Regions from separate parts of the Homo sapiens genome. Here region 2 is linked to region 1. The links are contacts of gene promoters, found by promoter capture Hi-C in blood cells and fetal thymus (Javierre and others, 2016). All regions are on one chromosome and are shown on one strand. The core of a region is centred on a gene start or on the middle of the fragment in contact, and the rest is flanking DNA. Distances in the headings are between cores, read along the strand shown. Region 1 holds the start of AZGP1 (alpha-2-glycoprotein 1, zinc-binding). Region 2 holds the start of OR2AE1 (olfactory receptor family 2 subfamily AE member 1).

Region 1 (2,796 bases), core at 204-2,703:
CTCTGTCTCAAAAATAAATAAATAAATAAATAATCAAATACTTTTAAAAACTAAAATAACCAAAAAAGTATAATTGGATTGTCTGTAACACAAACGATAAAAGCTTGAAGGGATGGATACCTCATTTTTGATGATGTGATTATTTCACATTGCATGCCTGAATCAAAACCTCTCATGTACCCCATAAATATATACACATACTATGCACCCACAGTTTTTTTTTTAATTTACAAAAAAATCAGTAGACCTTGAGTAAAGTGGATTACTCTCCATAGTGGTGGGCTTCATCCAATCAGTTGAAGGCCTTAAGAGAAAAAGCCTCAGATGTCCCCTAAAGAGGAAAGAATTCTGCCTACAGTCTGCCCTTGGAATCAAGACTAAGACATCAACTCTTCCCTGGGTCTCCAGCCTGCTGGCCGGCTCTGAAGATTTAGGACTTGTTACTCCTCCCAATAGTGTGAGTCAATTTCTTAAAATAAATCTCTACTCTCTCTCTCTTTTGTATACATATATGTAAATCTCTTCCTATGTGTGTGTGTATCCATGTGTATACAGTGTATGTATGTATGTGTACGTACATATATATGTATATGTGTACCACCTATTAGTTCTGTTTCTCTGGAGAACCCTGAGTAATTCAGATTTTGGCACAGAATCAGATTAACATTCCAAAGTGATTGTTATATAACAAACATATAACACCTTTTCTGACAATTTGTAAATGTCATGAATTTTAAACTCACACAACTGAGAAGCCATTCGCTTCCATGTCTTTATCCTGCACATTCTCATGCCACAAACAGCCTCCTTCCCTTATCCTAGGAGTGACTCTTGATCTCCCGGAGCTCCCACTCTCTTCTCTTCCAGCCACTCGCCTTCCAGACCCACTGCAGTGGTGTCTGAGTGTGGGATTTGGGCACGGGTTTCCTTCTAGCACCATCCCTCCAGCCAACCTGCCTTCCCACTTTCCCCTTGGGGCTGCTCTCTCTTTCCCTCAGCGTCAGGCAGGTGTACCCAGCCATCGGAAGGAGGGAAGGAACAGGAGCAGAAGCAGCTCCAGGCATATGGTTCCTACTCCGTCCTGACTGTCTACCCCAAGCAGGTCGCTTGGTCTTTGGAGTCTTTGTTTTCACTGTAAACTAGGGGTTTTAGATTCAGATTCCTGAAGGTCTTATTTCGGGCCAGCGCAGAGGCTCCCTGAATGCTCCTGGAAGTGTGTGAGCTGAGGGAGTTGACAGCCTTGGGCACCCATTCCTGCCGTATGCCAGGGTATCCCAGCTGCATCCAGCCTGTCTCCCAGCCACATGTCCTGTTCCTCACCTCCTTCCAGTCCTCTCCAGCACCCATCCCTTGCTTTCCCCACTCACCATCTTGGTTCTCCTGGGGGACAGCAGGACCCAGAAGCAGCAGCAGAGACAGCAGGACAGGCACCATTCTTACCATTGTGTCTGCTTGGAGGGTTCTGGGCAGGAGGCACAGATATTATCCTGGGTCCTGGGGCCCTGCCCAGGGGAGGTGAATCTACAGGCCAATGGGAGTGCCAGGACGGGCTCCTCCCCTAATAGAGAAAAAAAAATGATACACAAGCTAGGCTGGGCAGAGGTTATGAAGAATGAATCTACACACAGGATATGCAAATTCAGAGCTGAGTCCAGAGTTGATCTCTGGACTGAGGCTTTGTGTGTGCCTGGGGTGGAAGGATGCCAGTGGGTAGGAGGTGCGTGTGATGGGTGGCAAGCGCCTGGGATGTGTCACCCTTCCAGTCTATTGTGACAACCCCTGGGCCAGTAGGGGCATTTGTGTGTTTTTGGACCACACTGTATCCCTGCCTTCCAGAAAAACTCTCAACATGTCCAAGACATGGACCTGGGTAGACCCCAGCTGGGGTGGGACCCTCACTCTCCCACATCCGATCCTGCCAGAGGCTGTGTCTGGAGGACAGTCACATTCCCATCTCTCCCTCCTTCCTTTCTGTGCCTGTGGAATCCCAGCCTTCCATGATGGAAGCAGAAATAGCCGCATCCTCCTTTTGCAGCCTCCCTGGCAACAGAACGAGCCTCCCAAAATGCTGGGATTAAAGGCGTGAGCCACCACGCCCAGCCAAGATAATTTTTAATGCATACAACAAGACTCGTTTTACACAGACGAAGCCAGTTATTTGAAAACCAGGTCTTTCCAGGCACGCTCAGTGTTGATGGGCTATTTGCAGAGAGACCCTCCGAATACAAAGCAACATGCTATTCTAAAGTGACTGGGGCCCGGGTGCGGTGACTCATGCTTGTAATCCCAGCACTTTGGGAGGCTGAGGTGGTTGGATCACCTCAGGTTGAGGTCAGGTACTCGAGACCAGCCTGGGCAACATGATGAAACCTCGTCTCTACTGAAAAAATACAAGAATTAGCTGCGCGTGGTGGCACATGCCTATAATCCCAGCACTCAGGAAGCTGAGGCAGGGGTTTCACCATGTTGGCCAAGCTGGTTTTGAACTCCTGACCTCGTGATCTGCCCGCCTCGGTCTCCCAAAGTGCTGGGTTTACTAGTGTGAGCAACTGTGCCCAGCCTCTCTTTTGGTTAAAGAAACCTACAAAGGGACCTTTTATAGTGACTTCAATTTTATGGAATAATTGTAATGCTCCTAAGGCCGTTGTGCTCCAAAGTCTAGCCGCAGGTATTGTTATTGATTGGGCTCCAAAAGGGCATTATTGGCAAGATTGCTCCAGCAAAAATACCTCATGCTCAGAGTTTAATTATTTGTTAGATTATGTAGAGGATGGATGGCAGTCATACAGGCTGAGA
Region 2 (2,796 bases), core at 163-2,662, 99 kb before region 1:
AATACAACTTTTATATCATGCATCCTCCCTTTCAAACAGCCATCATTCACCATTTACTTCCCATGCTTCCAAAAGTAAGCAACACACTCCAATTTTAAACTCCATAAATACTCTCTGGTGGCATGTTTTATATATTTTTGTTAATAAAAATAATAATAGATAAGGGCCCTTATATCTTTATCTTGCCTTCTTTTTTTCAGGGTGTCAGTGACCTTTATATGTCTTCTTTCAAAGGGACTTTTTAAAAAGTTTTCCCTAATTCTCTAAAGATCTACTCAAATGTTCTCCACAGTGCTTGGATACCTGACACCAAGCTGGAATACTGGAATTGTGTGTTAAATGTGTTTTTCTTCCAGTAGTAAAACAGCATAAGGAAGCTATCTCCCTGAAAAACTTTAGAGGTTTATATGAATTAATTTAAGGAGCTTATCCTATTCCACTCTACACTCGGGGCAACCACAATTGCAGTCGTTGAATGCACTGGGTGATAACATCTCTCCTCAGCACTCTTCTCAGAGCCTTAGCTACATCTTTATTCCGGAGAGTATAAATCAGAGAATTCAATGTGGGCGTAATGATGCTGTAGAACACAGAACCAACTTTGTTCTGCAATAGAGTGCACTGGGACCTGGGTCTCATGTAGGAGAAGATGCAGGCACCAAACCAAAGAGAAACCACCGTGAGGTGGGAGCCACAAGTGGCAAAGGCATTTCTCTTGCTCCCAGATGAGCGCATCTGAATGACACTTTGAAGGATGAAGACATAGGATGTAGAAATCAGGAAGATGGGGAGGAGGAGGAGAATGCTGCTGATGTACACTGTGGTCTCATACACAGTGATGTCGCCACATACCAACTTCACAACAGCTGGGAACTCACAGTAGAAGTGGTAGACTTTCCGAGGCCCACAGAAAGGGAAGTGCATCAAGATCGCCATGTGAATTAGGGAGTTCACGGATGCCCCCAACCATGACATGACAGCCATCATCAGTCCCACCTTCTTGTTCATGAGCACAGCATAGCGCAGTGGATGACAGATGGCAACATAGCGGTCATAGGACATGACAGCTAAGAGAAAACATTCAGCACCACCTAGACACAAATAGAGGAAGTGCTGGGTTGCACAGCCCACAAAGGAGATAGATTTCTTGCCAGATAGGTAGTTGGTAGCCATCTTCAGGATGATTGTGGAGACATGCATCAGATCCATGAGGGAGAGCTGGCTGAGCAGGAAATACATTGGTGTATGAAGCTGGGGATCAATGCAGATGAGGAGAATGGTGAGGGTGTTGCCACTCACCGCAATAAGGAAGACCACCATGGTCAAGGAGAAAAGGAAAAGGTGGGTAAGGGAGTCATCGAAGAGCCCCTCAAGGATGAAGTCTGCCAGAGAGGTCTGATTCTTCTGCCACATTGTCCCCTTTCTCAATCCCTGAGGAAACAGAGAGTGGAGATAAAGAGTGTGACTGGAAATACTGGGGTCCAGTATACCCAAGGAAAAGCACCTTTTGATAGAGGACAGAACCTGTGAAAAAAATTTCCGTTTCTAATTATTCAACCTCTCTAATTATTCAAATAACCTTTTTTTAAAAGAGAGCTTAGAAATCTGCCTTCACAAACATAATCACTCTGAAATTTCAGAATATCTGGACTCTATTATCAAACTTCAAGTCTCTTCTCGTTAAGAAAGATATATATGTGTGTGTGTGTGTGTGTGTATGTATATGTATGTGTGTATATATTTATTCCCCATTTACTTCCTAGGCTTCCAAAACACACATATGTATACACACACACACACACACACACATTTGTCTTTCTTAATGAGAAGAGACTTGAAGTTTGATACTTAATGGAGTCTAGATATTCTGAGATTTCAGAGTGATCATGTTTGTGAAGGCAGATTTTTAAGCTCTCTCTCTCTATACAGACACACACAGAGAGACAGTTTGGAGAAAAGCTTGGGGGCGTTGCTTATTTTATCAGTGAGGATTTTACTAGAAAAGCTATAACACTAAGAGATTTCTCTTATACAATTGTGGAAGCTGGTTAGGCAATCTATGCGTGGCTGTTACCTTTGTGTCTGATGCTGGAACTTTAATTCCAGAGGGCAAGTAGTCAGGAAAAAAAAAATGGATATAAAGAGTGGCAGATCAAAGTCATGCTGGAACCCACAAGCATGAGCTGCAATCCCACAAAGGCAGACTGAAACCCATGTCAGTTCTTGTTGTCTCTGAAATTGGCGGTGTGGATATCCTGCAGAAGCTGGGGCGCCTCTTTTTTTTTTTTTTTTTTTTTTTGAGTTGGAGTCTTGCTCTGTCGCCCAGGCTGGAATGCTGTGGCCCGATCTCGTCTCACTGCAAGCTCCGCCTCCCGGGTTCATGCCATTCTCTTGCCTCAGCCTCCGTAGTAGCTGGGACTACAGGCGCCTGCCACCACACCCGGCTAATTTTTTGTATTTTTAGTAGAGACGGGGATTTCACCGTGTTCGACAGGATGGTCTCCATCTCCTGACCTCGTGATCCCCCCGCCTCGGCCTCCCAAAGTGCTGGGATTACAGGCGTGAACCACCGCACCCGGCCGCTGGGGCGCTTCTTAATGGCCAGATTAAAAATGCACACACCTGGCCGGGCGCGGCGGCTCACGCCTGTAATCCCAGCACTTTGGGAGGCCGAGGCAGGTGGATCACGAGGTCAGGAGATGGAGACCATCCTGGCTAACACGGTGAAACCCCGTCTCTACTAAAAATACAAAAAATTTGCCGGGCGTGGTGGCGGGCGCCTGTAGTCCCAGCTAC

What was found. The method cuts DNA at HindIII sites, captures the fragments that hold promoters and counts their contacts. A CHiCAGO score of 5 or more calls a contact.
Region 2: a contact is called between the fragment with the promoter of OR2AE1 here and the fragment with the promoter of AZGP1 in region 1, in 2 of 17 cell types (erythroblasts and M1 macrophages). The highest score is 8.1, in erythroblasts.

Annotation. Positions count from the first base shown.
Region 1 is chr7:99,974,578-99,977,373 of GRCh38, forward strand. It overlaps AZGP1 (alpha-2-glycoprotein 1, zinc-binding), which reads right to left and starts at 1,454. Exons shown (of 4, transcript NM_001185.4): 1 at 1,368-1,454. The coding sequence starts at 1,443. The HindIII fragment of the contact is 13,516 bases long and covers 102-2,796 here.
Region 2 is chr7:99,875,621-99,878,416 of GRCh38, forward strand. It overlaps OR2AE1 (olfactory receptor family 2 subfamily AE member 1), which reads right to left and starts at 1,413. Exons shown (of 1, transcript NM_001005276.1): 1 at 442-1,413. The coding sequence starts at 1,413. The coding sequence ends at 442. The HindIII fragment of the contact is 12,247 bases long and covers 1-1,957 here.